Regions from separate parts of the Homo sapiens genome. Here regions 2 and 3 are each linked to region 1. The links are contacts of gene promoters, found by promoter capture Hi-C in blood cells and fetal thymus (Javierre and others, 2016). All regions are on one chromosome and are shown on one strand. The core of a region is centred on a gene start or on the middle of the fragment in contact, and the rest is flanking DNA. Distances in the headings are between cores, read along the strand shown. Region 1 holds the start of LRMDA (leucine rich melanocyte differentiation associated). Region 2 overlaps LRMDA (leucine rich melanocyte differentiation associated). Region 3 overlaps LRMDA (leucine rich melanocyte differentiation associated).

Evidence for each region. The method cuts DNA at HindIII sites, captures the fragments that hold promoters and counts their contacts. A CHiCAGO score of 5 or more calls a contact.
Region 2: a fragment that was not itself captured here is called in contact with the fragment with the promoter of LRMDA in region 1 in 2 of 17 cell types (endothelial precursors and megakaryocytes); the score reaches 5.3 in endothelial precursors.
Region 3: a contact is called between a fragment that was not itself captured here and the fragment with the promoter of LRMDA in region 1, in 1 of 17 cell types (monocytes). The highest score is 5.8, in monocytes.

Annotation. Positions count from the first base shown.
Region 1 is chr10:75,428,951-75,433,676 of GRCh38, reverse strand. LRMDA (leucine rich melanocyte differentiation associated) reads right to left here and starts at 2,053. Exons shown (of 7, transcript NM_001305581.2): 1 at 1,923-2,053. The coding sequence starts at 1,952. It overlaps LOC107984293 (a long non-coding RNA gene), which reads left to right and starts at 2,067. Exons shown (of 2, transcript XR_001747703.2): 1 at 2,067-2,155; 2 at 3,367-4,726. RefSeq lists enhancers at 1,244-1,744, 1,745-2,245 and a silencer at 2,004-2,103. The HindIII fragment of the contact is 4,872 bases long and covers 1-3,220 here.
Region 2 is chr10:75,899,937-75,904,662 of GRCh38, reverse strand. The region is part of intron 2 of LRMDA (leucine rich melanocyte differentiation associated); the gene reads right to left. Among named protein-coding and RNA genes, the nearest start is that of MIR606, 350 kb to the right of the region's middle. The HindIII fragment of the contact is 2,028 bases long and covers 928-2,955 here.
Region 3 is chr10:75,771,917-75,776,642 of GRCh38, reverse strand. The region is part of intron 2 of LRMDA (leucine rich melanocyte differentiation associated); the gene reads right to left. Among named protein-coding and RNA genes, the nearest start is that of MIR606, 220 kb to the right of the region's middle. RefSeq lists an enhancer at 1,578-1,872. The HindIII fragment of the contact is 3,515 bases long and covers 206-3,720 here.

The sequences.
Region 1 (4,726 bases), core at 804-3,303:
GAAGGATCTACTAAAGTCTGACAAGTACTGTTCCATGCTACCCACATCCAAGGTGCTACCTCTTAAAGCGGCCGCCATTAGAAATCGCTGGGAGCAGAATGTAGAAAAAACAAACAAACAAACAAACAAACAAAAAAACCACCTCCGGGGCCAGACACTCAAATCCACTAACCTGGGCAGTTTAGGAAATGGGGCACTAAGACTCCAGGGGCATTTTCCCAGCCTACCTTCTTAGCTCCTCCCCAGGCAACTCGGTCTAATAAAACAGTCCCCAAGGGCCTAAAATGCCTCACCCACACTTCCATGAATGCCCTTGGGCTGTTTGGAGTAGGCTAAGAACAGGGGCTGCAGGAAAAATCGAATCTAGGAAACGGAGGAAGAGCAAAGGGAAAGGAAGCACAGGAAAGTGCTCAGCCCCATGAACTTGTAGCAAGGTACACCGGGAGAACACCAAATCTGAAACGCAGAGAGACCTAGGGTCTGGGGGGCAGGGAACCCTCCTTCTTAGGTAGATACTCCAAGAGAAGGAAAAGACCCTCTTGTCCAGCCCCTCCCTCCAGGCAGTAAATTAACTCCCAGAAAAAAAAAGCCCCTTTCCCCGATGGCTGAACAAGACCCGTCATTTTTAGCCTCTCCGCAGGCTGTTAACTCACTTCTGAACTCTGGTCTTTCTCCAGCTCTCTCCTCCCAGGCTGTGGGTCAAGGGACAGAGCCAGCATTCCTGAGCAACAAAACTGTTAAATGGGGGGTGCACAGAGACAAAGGAAAGGCTAATTTCCAACAACACCTGGCATGGTGCCTGGCATACAGTAGGCACTCAATAAACATGTGTACCTGATGAAACGACAGGACTCTGGAAAAAAAGAAAACAGGCAGCGGCTAGTTTAATGGGCTGCACAGTTGGCCCTCACTGCATCTGTAGGAGCTGTAAAAACCCCTAGAATCTCCTCTAAGGAGGAATCATTCCCTTCAGCCCAAAGTAATCTCAAAATCCAATTGTGCCTGACACTACCTGCCTTAGGCAATCCAAGAGGAGAGCTTCAAAAACTCAGAACTATTTCTCCAGGGTGTGCAGGGAAAGGTGGGAAGTAAGAGGGCTCTGGCTTCATCAGAGCAGAGAAGAGGTTAAAGACAGAGAACTGGCTTTTCCAGCAGGTAAGAAAGACACCTGGTCCCAGAGTGGCTGGGTTCATCCCTCCAACAATGAACACCTGAGGCTTCACTACAGAGCTCAAAGCATGTGAGACTGGGTGTCTGGCACCCAGGATTGAAACTGGCGTGTTGCCATTCATCACAGACTCCTGTTCAAGAAATCGAGTGTGGAAAGAGAACTGGAGGTCGGTGGCCTTCCATCAGCCTTTGGCTATGGCGTAGCCCATTCAGCGCAGGGCCCACCAGCACCCTCATCTCCAGGGATGTGCTGGGACTTTGGGTACCCTAGACACTTTTGCCTTCATAAACCCCTTCCTCCATTTACAAATAAGTAAATTTGTATATTACAACTGCATTGGTATAAAGATGACTATATCAATGTGATTTATCAAAATGGATTCTTTGACCAAAAGTTTTTAAAATTCAGATTATGAAATTGGAACATTTTCTGTGGGCCCCCAAAAGCAGCGGGGGCCGTCAGCACTGTGTCCGCTGGGCCTGCTCAGTGAGGCGCTAAGGGCAGAAGGAAGTGGGGAGAACGGGAGACCTTGCGGGTGTTCTTCCCGCACATCAAGGGGGTGTGCCAGGCCCGAAACGAGGTCTGTCCTAGCCCCACTAGGGCGAGCCTGAGCACCTGAAGCTCACCCCCTGCAGACGCAGCCCCCTGAGGCGGGGACAGGGGTGTCTAGGCCCTGGGGAGCCTCTGTGCCCCGCTGTCCCTCCCCACGCGGACTGCGCCCCGGGCGGAGGCGGGGCTGGCCGGGACTTACTTGAGTTCCACGCACCACGAGCCCGGCCATGGCGGCCAGGACGCTGCGGGCGCGCGGGACGGAGCGCGGGGGCGCGGCGGCAGCAGCGGGGAGCGCGGCAGGGGAGCGCGGCGGGCGCACAGTTCCGCACTGGGCAGTCAGCTGACCCGGCGGAAGCCGGAGGCGCGGGCTAGCCTCGGGGACCTCAGCTCCGCCGCTCGCCGCCGCCGCCCCTCGGCCCGGTCTCCGCGCAGGTGAGCCCTGGCCGCCCGCTGCAACAGGTGGCCCGCAGCGCCCCGCGCCCCGACGGCGGCCTGACCCCGACTGCCCGCGCCCCTCCCTCCCCCGGATGTCCCAATGCCCAAAACTCCATGCCCACAGCTTTATCGCGTTTGTCTGGGCCACGCCTGAGGTGGGGGTATTCCTATCAGGGGCGCCCTTTCTGAGCCGTTAGCCGGGCTGTAGCCAGCCGGGCCTTTCCTGCATTTCGCAAGCTGGGTTACATAATGGACCTCAACTGCAGCGAGGAGGGGCCTCTTGGCTGAACGCCCCTCCTCATCAAAGCTGGGGAGAGGGAAAGTTAGAAGGTTGAAGGACTCCTGGTGCGGCCCAGTTTCCATTTGTAGGAGGGGAGGGGGATTGGGGGGGTTGAATTTCCCTATAAATAAAACGCTGGCTTGGTGAAGACCACCCCACCCTTTCCCTGTGGCCTCTAAGAGTTGACAATAATAAACCCTGGGGAAGGATAATTGGCTGGTGACCCCAAATTTCAGGCTTCTCTTCTCCTGCTCCTCAGAGGGCAAGAGATTTGTGAGGCTTGAAGTTATCAGTGGGGTTATTCGCTGTTCCCCACCCACCCCATCCCCACCTGGAAGAGCTGGCCACGGGCCTCCTGTCTGGATGAAAGTAGGCCCAGTGGGCAGGTAACTCCCTAAACCCATGCCTGTTTTTCTCTGAAATTCTCTGGAAGGATCCAGATTTTCTCCTTGCCTATTCTTGCCTCCAAGTCCAGGATGCACAGAGCTACCAGATATCAACTGGTTGTCATCTTCCACTCTTGCTGCAGCTAAGAGCCAGCCCAGCCTTAACTGGCATCGTCTCTCAGACAGCCCCGGTCCTAACACATTGTTAGGTGGGCCCTTGTCAGCATTTTGATGAGCAGTGTTGATCTCGGAGGGTTGACCTTCCTGCCCCTCTCTCAGCTGGGAGGAGCAGGCTCAGAAGAGTAGAGCAGTAAGAATGCAGTCTTGACTGTGTTTACTTTGGGGGATTCCAGGAAATGCTGCAACAAAAGGTCCTGCAGGCCAAAAAAGAAAGCTTACCCTCCAGAGATAAGGGGATCAAAGGGAACCTTCCCAGGCCTGTTGCCCCAAGGACCAGCTCCCCCGCCTTCTCCCTCCTTCTCTGCTGGACGCGCCCTCTCTGGTCCATTGTGCACTTTTGTCTGCTTTTCCTGCCTGAAAAGGAGGAAGTGAGCCCGGACCCAGCCAGCACTCTGCCCTCCGCAGCTGCCTTTCAGCTCAGCTTTCCTAGAAGGGCTTTGACAGATGGAAGAGGACTTGTGGAAACAGGCCCAAGCTGACTCAAAGATGAGATTGGAGAACGGCTCTCCCTTCCCCCACCAGAAGGGGGTTACTGAAGGTCATCTCATCCATCCCCCTGCCTCCATACACAGCTGGGTCATCTGAGCATAGGCTGTTCTGCAGACACTACCAATGTCACCAAAGTGGGCTGGCATCTTTCCCCCTTTCCACACCCTCTCACTACTGTTGCCTCCTCCACATAGCCCCAGGGCAACCATTTTAAAAGCCCAATTAGATCCTACCTAAAATCTTTCAATGGCTCCTAATCAAGTAATAATTAATACAGTCCAGAATCTTTAGTATGTCCCTGAAGATCTCTTATAATCCCATCAATTCTTACCTCTTCAGCCACCTGTCCCAGCTCTCCCGTCCTCTGGCTTCACAGAAGCTGTTAGTTTCAGCTGGAAATGCTTCCCCACCTACTGCTGTCTCTGCTTGGTGAACACATCAAGAAGGCCAGTTGATGGTGTGGGGAAGGATCATGTGCAGAAATCACAAAAATTAAGATCAGGATAGCTCTGTTGGAGGGGGGCTTTAGTGTTGGAACTGTAAACTGATAACAATAGGGAGCTATTGAAAGTTCTTGAGCAAAGTAGTTGTCTTAGTCTACTAGGACTGCTGTAACAAAATGCCATAAACTGGGTGCTTATAAACAATAGAAATTTATTTTTCACAGTTCTGGAGGCTGGGAAGCTGAAGATCATGGCACCCACGATTTGGTGTGTGGTGAGGGCCCATTTTCTGGTTCCCAGACAACGGCCTTCTTCCTGTGTCCTCAAATGGTAGGAGGGACAAGCTAGCTCCTGTGGGCCTCATTTGTAACAGCACTAATCCCATTCCTGAGGGCTCCACGCCAATGATCTAATCACCCCCCACAAGGCTCCACCTAAGACCTTGGAGGTTATGATTTCAACATATGAATTTGGGAGGGACACAAATGTTCAGACCGTAGCAGAAGTAATTTCCTGAATGTTGTTGGGGGAGGACACCAGCAGAAACAAACTGGATTCACCTGTCCTTACTCCTCAGCTTTTGGAGTTAGTCTTCAGAATAGAAGAACAAGGAGAAGGAGGAGGGGAAAGGAGAATAGAAGGAACAGAAGGAGGAAGGGGGGAAGGGAGAAAGGTAAAAGGAAAAGAAAAAGAATCTGTGTCCCTGGACCAAGGAAGATTGGAAGCCGGGAGGGGGAACATCCTTCTACCTCCTTATCACTGTTGCCAACAAAAAGGAAGATTAAACAGA
Region 2 (4,726 bases), core at 692-3,191, 470 kb before region 1:
TGGTGGCGTTGCCGTGGAGACAGGGACAAACAATTCCCTCGCTGTGACATTTTCAATGTCCTGGAGAAGAAAAACTGTCCTCTTTAGTGTGGCAGCGAATGAAGCTTATTTATGGCTACAGGGCTCAGTGGATTGATGACTGTCGTAACATACTGTCAAATCCTTTACTGACACATTCATTTTTTTGGAGCCCCTGGTACAGCAGAAATAAAATAAAATAATAAAAACAAAACCAGGGGGAAAATTCTCCAGCAAACCATAGACGGCCACCAGTGGACCTTGCTTTCACTACAGGACCTCAGAATTAATAGACAAAAAGACTTTATACTTCTTGCCTCTATGACCAAGGAGAAAAGCAAGGCATAATTAGAAGTTGCTGAGTAAGAAAGAACACTATCAGGGCCACCAGCTCATCCCAGAAATGCTGGCTATCAAAGTAAGCTATTTGTAAATATCCAAGATTGGTAAATATACACAGGTATGCTCTCCCTACTTATCATAGAGGATGATGCCTTAGAAACCTATGGTAGTTTTTTAGAAAATTCTCCCAGCCAAAGAGACACAGTCTAGCCACTGCCTCCACTGTACAGCATCCCAGCCACAGCCGTCATTCCAAGGTTCAATACGGTAGTATTAGTCTCTTGAATCTATGGGTAGTTTTATGGTCTATAGAACATGTTCACATTCACCATTTCTTTTGCTTTTCATCACACAGCAGAGCAAGTGTCATAATCCCCATTTCATTTGCGAAGAAGCTGAAGTTTGGAGAATTTAAGCAACATCCCTGAAGAGACAGAACTAGTTAGGGGCTAAGCAGGGACTCCCAACCTAAATCTTTAGTAGGCACAAGTAACTAGTCACTATCTCAAACCAGGCACCCGGCCCCACATGTTCTGAACTGCTTTAACGGGAGCTCTGTTAAAAGCTTTTGGTTGGTGCAATGCAACGGAGTGGCTGCATTTCAGCAGCAGATAAAGGGACTCCTAGTGATCGCACTGAGTCCATAAAGACTTCTCGAGGCTCTGGCATTTTTCTAGTTCCTTTCATTCAAGGATCCTAGTCATCATCATTATTATTGTTGTTGTTATTAATAATGATAATGAAATAAACTATGCAAATGCGGGGAATGGCTTTAGCCCTAAAACGCAGGCAGTAATGTGGTAATTTATCCAATAATGGAATCGCGAAGTGATTTTATTTGCTTTTATGGCTCCTTTCTTTCAGAGGAGCTAGGCATCAATAATGGCAATAGTAATGAAATCAACTATGCAAATGTGGACATCGTTTTTGCCCTAATGTACCAATTTAGCCAGCGAAGGAAATTCAACACAGTCTGATGTGCTTCCCGACACCCAGGAGGGAGGGCTTCAGAGCTGACCTGTGCTCAGTTACCCAGATGTCATGATTAGTTTTCTAAGAGCAAGGCCCTGTCAATATCCATTTGGTATTATAACCAAAACCTTCCCTCCATGGTGGAAAATTTAGGAAATTCCCTCAATGACTTAAATAGAGAGAGGGATTTTAATATGAGAGCAAGATACGTTGATTTTAACACAATTCACTTTCTAGGCAGAAGCTCCACAAAAGGATCCTGGTTCAGGCTGCCTGGAGTCATCAGTCAGAACGGCCCCTCCTAGACTGGGCGTTTTCACTATAGCTGTAGAAGATTCTCTGTGGGACTGATGCCCCCTGCCAGACTCTCCATTTATCTGCTTCTGATCTGGATTCAGTGGGGACATTTCTCTGGCCAGAGGGTGGGAGCTCTGAAGGGCCCCTGGGGAGCCCTAAAGGAGCAGCACGGGGGGTTGTCGGGGGAACCAGAGTCAGTCCCCTCTTCTAAGCCCTGGGTTGGCCCTCCTCACTGCCACAGGATCTGTAACACCTGCTGCCATGATAAAGAAGAAAAGAACAGCACTCAGAGGACAGAATACAAGGCAGATCTGGAAGGCAAAGAACTTTGAACAGATCTCTATCTAGTATTTATTAATGCATTACAAATTTGAAAAGCCCGTGAGATCCCTGAAGGGAGAGACCTTATTTTCCTGTGTCCTAGAGCTTGGCACAGTCAGTGCCAAGTGAGTGTTGAATAAATGAAGGAATGAATAAACAAACAAAAACAGAAAGAATAAAATAGATTTTAGTGAGAGAGCTCTAGATACCCCAAAGCAAAGAATATGCATGTCCGGTACTGCTTTTAGATCCAAGTAACTAGAGCCCCCTGCCCAAGGCCAAGCACTTTAGAAGGCCCACTCTGGCCCTCCTCCATCCCCTCCCACCCCTATGGGATAAAGAGGTCCAGGGAACAAGGGCATTTCCAACCTGGAGCCTACTCCCCAGTTAGTAGACCATGTTATGATTACCCGGAACCCAAAATTCACTTCTCAAACAACCCTAAGCATTTCTAGCGCCTGCAATGACCTCTTCCCTGGGTCCTATCTCTCAATAGTGCATGGTGCCACGGGCATGCACCCCTAAGGCCAAGGGGTAGCCAAAGAGCAGCCATTGGTGGGTAGACCTTGGATGGGCAAGCTGGGTGCCCATGTGGATGTGTGCAAAGGCCTCTTGTGGGGGGAATGTGGGGCTGAAGGAAAAGAGAAGGGAGCATTGAGCAAGGGGCCTCATCTGGACTCTCATACTGAACCCCCCAAATGTTAGGGGTACTTCAGTTTAATTTGTCTGCTGTCAGTCTGGGTCAAAACCCTGAGGCTGGTGAGAGATATCCACAGTATGAGAAAACACAATTACATTCTCACTCCTTGGCAGGTTGATGACTTGGGGAGCGAAGAAAAAGACCACGTGAAAAACCTCGAGATCTAAAACAGGTTGTCAATATTTAAATAAATAAATAAAAAGGAAACTCCAGCAGTCAGTTCTAATTAATTCGCGGCAATCAGCTTCTCTTGTTCTATTAGTTACCATTACAGCAACACACTCTTGAACAAAATACCAGAAGCTTTCATTAGAATCATTAACATAATTTGATAACTGATGGTATTTGATTTCTGACTTTTGCACTTTGACTTGAAGCTTGGTGCAAGATGTAATCTCATTGATTGTCTCGGTTCTTTTTTCTCCCCCCATGAATACTTCACATGACATTTCTTTGTTAACTGTAATTAATGTTCGCATTTGTCACAAGTTGTATTATTTGGAAAAGCAGTCATGATGATAAAAGATGTGACAAAGACACACACATGTCTTCTTATCCAGAATGGCTTTATCCTCATTTAGGTTTTGGGAGAAAATAAATGAAATAAGTCAAGCATATATTTGTTTTCACAGTCAGGATGGATTGTTCAAAGTGATGCCTCTTGGAGAAACCAATGCAATTAGCTTTCTTAAAAAAAAAAAAAGGTGTCATTAAGGCATGAGTGAAATCTTAAAAAGACAAGGAGATTTGAATTCAGGTTGAACATGCCAGGCCATAAATCTGTCCCACTTCCATTGATGGTAAGTGCTAGAGCACAGAGGCTACTCCCAGACCACTGGAGTTCAAGGTGACTCACACAGAGATAGAAACAATCTCTCTTCCTCTTCTTCCTCCTCTCCTCCTCCTCTTGCATCTCCCTTTCCCTCTCTGTCTCCCTCTCTCTCTTTCTCATTATCTTGAATTGTCTGTTGTTGATGGATGGGAGAGATACCTAAGCTGGCTCTACGTAGGGGATCAAATAAATACTCCCAGCCAAGGACTACCTTTTTGGCTTGAATGTCTGGCATCAAGTATGAAGAAATCTCTGCAAATATGATTATCCAGCAGCTATCTCTAGTTCAGCGTAGACAGGATATACTCAAGGTCCTATGCAGTAAGACTTTATGATCCATAAGGGCATAAGATGGCAGGCAATAGTGTTCTATTTGTTTAAAAAGAAAAAGAAAGGTGGGGGGGTGGGCATGGAGGAAGAACACATTCCAAGAAACCCAAATTCCAATCAAGATTCAGAATTGGAGTGGATCTGCAGTGAGGTCCACTTAGACTGACAGAAATGGCAACTGTGGGTACATGAAAGGCCATCTGTGTGCATTAACCCCTCCAGGGGCATGCTGCGGGGGCTGGGGGGCAATGCACTGCACAGGCTGAAAGTGGCCCAAATCAATCTCTTTTTTCTTGTGCCCTTGCCTTCCCCTCCCCCAATCTAGTCTCAAAGGGGTTTCCTCCATCATGTACTAATGGTCTGCAATTTATTTTAAAGAGGCTATTTTGATCCTCAAGAAGTACTTAGGGGAACCGGGAACCATAAACACCTCCTTTTTAAAAATTTTGTTTCCTTTTTCCCAGCCTGTAATTTAACTCTGACTGGCACCATTCAAATCAAGCCTTCCAAGCACAGACTCCCATCAAGTCAGCTCCAACTTGGAGCACAGTTTTACGACCAAGTTAGAAATCCCTTAAAACAAGGTTTTCAGAGGGAAACATTTGACAGACTTAACTCTTGTGGTGCAAATATGCCAGGATGACATAGCAATTAGTTATTCAAAATACGGGAAGGGATTACAAGCTTTTTCAAGTCTTTTCATAAATATGTCCGCTTCTGGTATACAATCAGTAATTATACCATTCTTACTCAACTGTAAACTTCCTGGGTATGATTTATATCTCATAGAAATCAACACAAAAGTATTTGTTTTCTCAAAGGAAGAGCCCCAGCTCTAATCTCCAAGGCTCACACACATCAAAGCTGGAGAACTACTGTTCTGCCTCACCAATGTAAATAAAATCATACACAAA
Region 3 (4,726 bases), core at 714-3,213, 340 kb before region 1:
GCTAATAGTGTCCAATTGATTTACTTAGGGGAACCAATCTCTGGTAACTGATACAAATATGAATCCCAAAATAGCACTGAAAATATTACAGGGATACAGCCAAACATGGAATGGGAAATAATCCCCAAATTTCCATCTTAAGTTCCTTCTGGCCCATGAACCTCAGTTTCCCCCTTTGTAAAATAAGAAGGCTGCATTTCAAGCTTATGTTGGCATGCAGAACTCTTTTTCCAAATCAAGTCCAACAAATAGTACAGGAAAACCTAGTGGTTTCTGAGAGTGGATCAGGGTCCCTTCTTCCTCCAATATGCCCCCAGATGATTTCTAGAACCTTGCGAACTACTGGACTGAATCATCTCTGTGAGTTCTTCCAGGACCCAAATTCTCAAGTTCTCGAGAGAAAAAGCAGCAATAGCAGCAGTTGTAAAAGGCTTTCTCCATCATTGGTCCACAATGCTTTCCTCAGTGTTCAGCATCTAAGTGGCACTGAATGAATGTGGTTCTGAGTTGATCAATAATAAAGGAAGTTGTAAATAGCTTCTTCTCTGCTTCTCCTTGAGTTTGGGGTAAGGTTAATTAATATCAACAGCAAAGGGAAAGAGGCAGATATTAAAGCAAATTATAGTAGCCTCATGGTTTGCTAACTAAACTCCTCAAGCTGGGTATTCATAGCAGGCTCAGTGTCCTGGCCCCCAGGTCTGAGGCAAACAGAGGAGTGTGCTCTCTACACTTTTCTTCTGCCTCAGAATCTTAAGTCAGCATCCCCAAGGCCTGCACTTGTCATGTTTCCAGGTCTACCTCTACGCTGGAGATCTCTAGAGGTTTTGGAGCTCCTTGAAAGTAAGACTGTGAAAAGACAGCCAGGAACATTGCTACCTTGGACAATGCCATAAGAATTGAGGTGGGAACAAGAAGACTGCTCTGTGGAGCCACCAAGAGATTCCTTTGGAGTAGCTCAAACAGAGACTCCTCAGTGGGATGTGGGAGGTTTCCCCACGCACAAGAGCTGCTTACATCCTCATTACATATGACTCACACATGTTCGGGGGACCACTGGACCAGGATCATACTGACTGTGGTTAAGTCCCCACATGGGACATCATGACCCATTATGTTGACCACTAGTGGAATTTTCCAATACCTGAGGATACAACACTGTTAGAATCAATGCAATAAGCTGTCGCTCATTTCTTTGCAAGCTGAAAACCTATTTATAAAAGGAAGCCGGGCACAGTTGTGCATGCCTGTAGTCCCAGCTACTGGAGAGGTTGATGCAAGAGGATTGCTTGAGCTCAGGAGTTTGAGGCTGTAGTGTGCTGTGGTTGCACCTATGAATAGCTGTTACACTCCAGCCTGGGCAACATAGCAAGACCCCATCTCAAAAAAACAGATTTATAAGAGGAAAATCTCCAATGCTTGTTTGAGTCAGACCAAAAGAATTGCAAAGGCTAAATCTGACCTCTTCCTATAAAAATAACATGGAGAATCCTTGTGTGGACAGGCCTAACCTTCTTGATAGGCCCCTCTCAGGAAGGCCCCACAAAATCTACAGTGGAAGAACAATCCACTTCTGTGAAGGAAAAGTTAATGGCCAGTTGGTTTCAATTGACTAGGACAGAGCTAAGTGAATGTAGATAAACCACTTCCCGACTGAGGCTAGGCCAGGGGATCCTCCCCCACACCTCCCACCGCTGATATCATTCTTGAAAGCCTTGTTTCCTTCCAGCCTGGAAAGCTCCATTTTGGAAACAATGACCCTTTATGGAGAGCTTTCATCCCTGCTTAAGTTCTAAAAATCAAAGAGCCAATATGTCTAAGCTGCCCTCAAGGATCTGGGAAAACTGCCGTGGGTACGTTGTTATTTAGTGGTAATATCTTATTTAACTTGTCAGTTGTCTTGCTGTTTTCAGAATGAAACCAGATATAAATAAAGCAAAAAAAAAAGTGTTTGAGATAGGCTACTGATCACTAGTTTATTTTTTGAGTTGAGAAGCCACACAGTTTTCCAAGCATGGTTACATTATGGTAATATGCTTTGTCATAAATCTACTATATCCTTCTGCTTGTCTATAAAACAGTCTGCTCCTCATCGTTCTCAACTTGGCCTGCATACAGAACTTTTAACTTAAAATATCTAACAATATGTCATATCCACCAGATACATGACAGCTATTTCTAAGATACATAATATTATTAATTATTTTTGAATTTAACTGAACTGTTATGAATCCAAAAAGTATAAAAATGACATTTAGCCATCAACAGTTCTTGAAACATTATACACACAAAGAAGAAATACTAACAAGTCCTACAGTACTCATAATTTCAAAATTATACCCTTTGAAGCCAAAATGACATTAAGAGAAACAAAAAGGATGTAAGAACTTAAAAATAAAAATGTAATGCTTGAAAATATTAAACTTGTCTTCAGATAAAAATTAAGTGTGAGATAAATTATTTTTTATGTTTGCAGAACTGTCAAACAATGTGCTGTCTCCTTAAACTATTTAAAGAAATAGGGCTGGAGTGTGTGGAGAGGATCTGGAAGACATAAATGACACTGAGAGGATGAGCAAGAAGACTGACTTCCATTTACTCTGATTCACTTAGCATGTACTGAACACCTACCATGTACTCATACTATGCTGTGTATCATGGCGGATTAAAAGAATGATACAGACTAAGCCTTAAAGGAACTTACAGACTCAGTGAGGACATGAGAAACACACAAGATGTGAATATAATGAAACACAACTACCTTTGATTAAATGCCCAAATAAAAGCTCTGGTAAGTAATGTGAGCATTAGAGCAGGAAGAACTCAACGTGGGCCAGGATAGTTGAGGAAGCTCCATTAGGAGCTAGAATTTCAGCTGGATCTTGAAGACTGACTCATATTCAGAAAGATATAAAGAAGGCCAGAGGGAACTGACAAGAGGGGAGGCAGAGTAAACAGTGACCCAAAGGCTGGAACAAATATTACTCACTGGGCGAAGTGTGAGCTGAAATGAGTGAGTGGCCTCACCGCAGGCCTAGACCTCAGGTGACCCACAACTCAAGGACGTGGAAAACATTCATCATTCATCTGTCTCCCTCTTCCCACATGTTTCTCATAGACAGCTTCATTGGCGTCCCCCAGGGGCTCGGAGTTCTGGGGCTCCCAGTGTCCCCTCTCACCAGACCTGCTCCACTGGACCCACACAGGAACCCCCTAGATTCACCACCATGAGTCACAAACTTCCTTCCCCAGCTCCAAGGGCTGTGCTTTCTTTAAGAACCCATCAAATTGCTCAGAACTGGGAGTGGTCAATCCCTTCACCTAGTTAACATACTACAATCTTTCCATTGCAGCCTCTCTGTGCTAACCTGAGATCAGTGGTTCTCAACCAGGGGTGACTTTGACCCAGAGGGACATTTGGCAATGTCTGGAGACATTTTTAATTGTCACAAAGGATGTGTTACTGGTACCTAGTGAGTAGAAGCTAGGGATGCTGTGATACATCCTTCAACATATGAGACAGTCCCCCATAACAAACAATTTTCTACCTAAAATGTCAACAGTGGCAAGGTCGCAGTGGAATGAATATAGACATTCACGATACTTTTCTGAACAAATTTATTTTAACAAGATGGAGAGCTTTCCTTTTTCTTTTGTATTTTTCTTAAATTTTACTCAAATCCATTCACTTTCAGAAGGTGTACACCCAAATTCCAAGAAGCTTCCCAGGGCAAGCTGGGATGATCCATACATCCCTGATTAATCTGCCCCCCCCCATCCCACCCCCCCCAAAAAATAAGAATAGTGCCCTGAGGGGCAGGGCACTCTGGCTATGAAATGTGCTCTAGTCCTGCAAATGACCAATATATACCTAAACCTAACTAGAAATGACAGGATATTGAAAGCCAGTACATTTTGTACCTTTTGGGCCCTTCCACAGCAAGACGCACTTTAGGTACTTACATTTTAATAGGGAAGAACCTCATTACCCAAATATTTGCTATTCGAGCACTTTCAGTTTTGAATTTGCATAAGGAAACAAAGTCATCATAACTATTCATTAGCGAATTGACCGGTTCCCACTCAAACTTCTCTTCCAAGTAGCATTCATCCCTGATCCTTGTATCAACAATTTAGGCCCATCTGATGGTCAAATGTTACATAAGCCTCTGGTGCAAAGCAACTGCAAAATGAAACCGAAACTTCTGCAAAAGATGTGGCGTTTCACGAACTCAACTGAAGTGACAGAGAAATGCTCAAATTACACCCAAAACCATTGATCCTATGCCCTTAGGCCAACTGAAAAAGCAAAAATCAAGTCAATAACAACATTTTATAAGACTGACTTAAATACTGAAGGATTAAGAAAGGCCCTCATAAAATTGATAAAGTCCTAATTTTACAAAAATAAACAACTTTAATGATTGCACAATAAAAGCAAACATGAAGTAAAAGATATATGGTGCCAGCGTGTAATTCTGTCATTAACACTTATGGAGAAAAATTAAATTAATAGTTGAATTGCTTTTCTGAGAATTAGAGCATAGCTGCAGCTACAACTGAAAATGTTTTTGATACCAAATATTTTTATCCTTTTGGGTTTCAGCTTGCAAGATTAAATTCCAAACTTTTTTTTTCTAGATTTACTATTACATACTGCTTTCCATGTAAGTTGCTTTGCTTTAGCTGATCTTTTCCAGTACTAATTGCCTTCCTACCATGGGCCTCC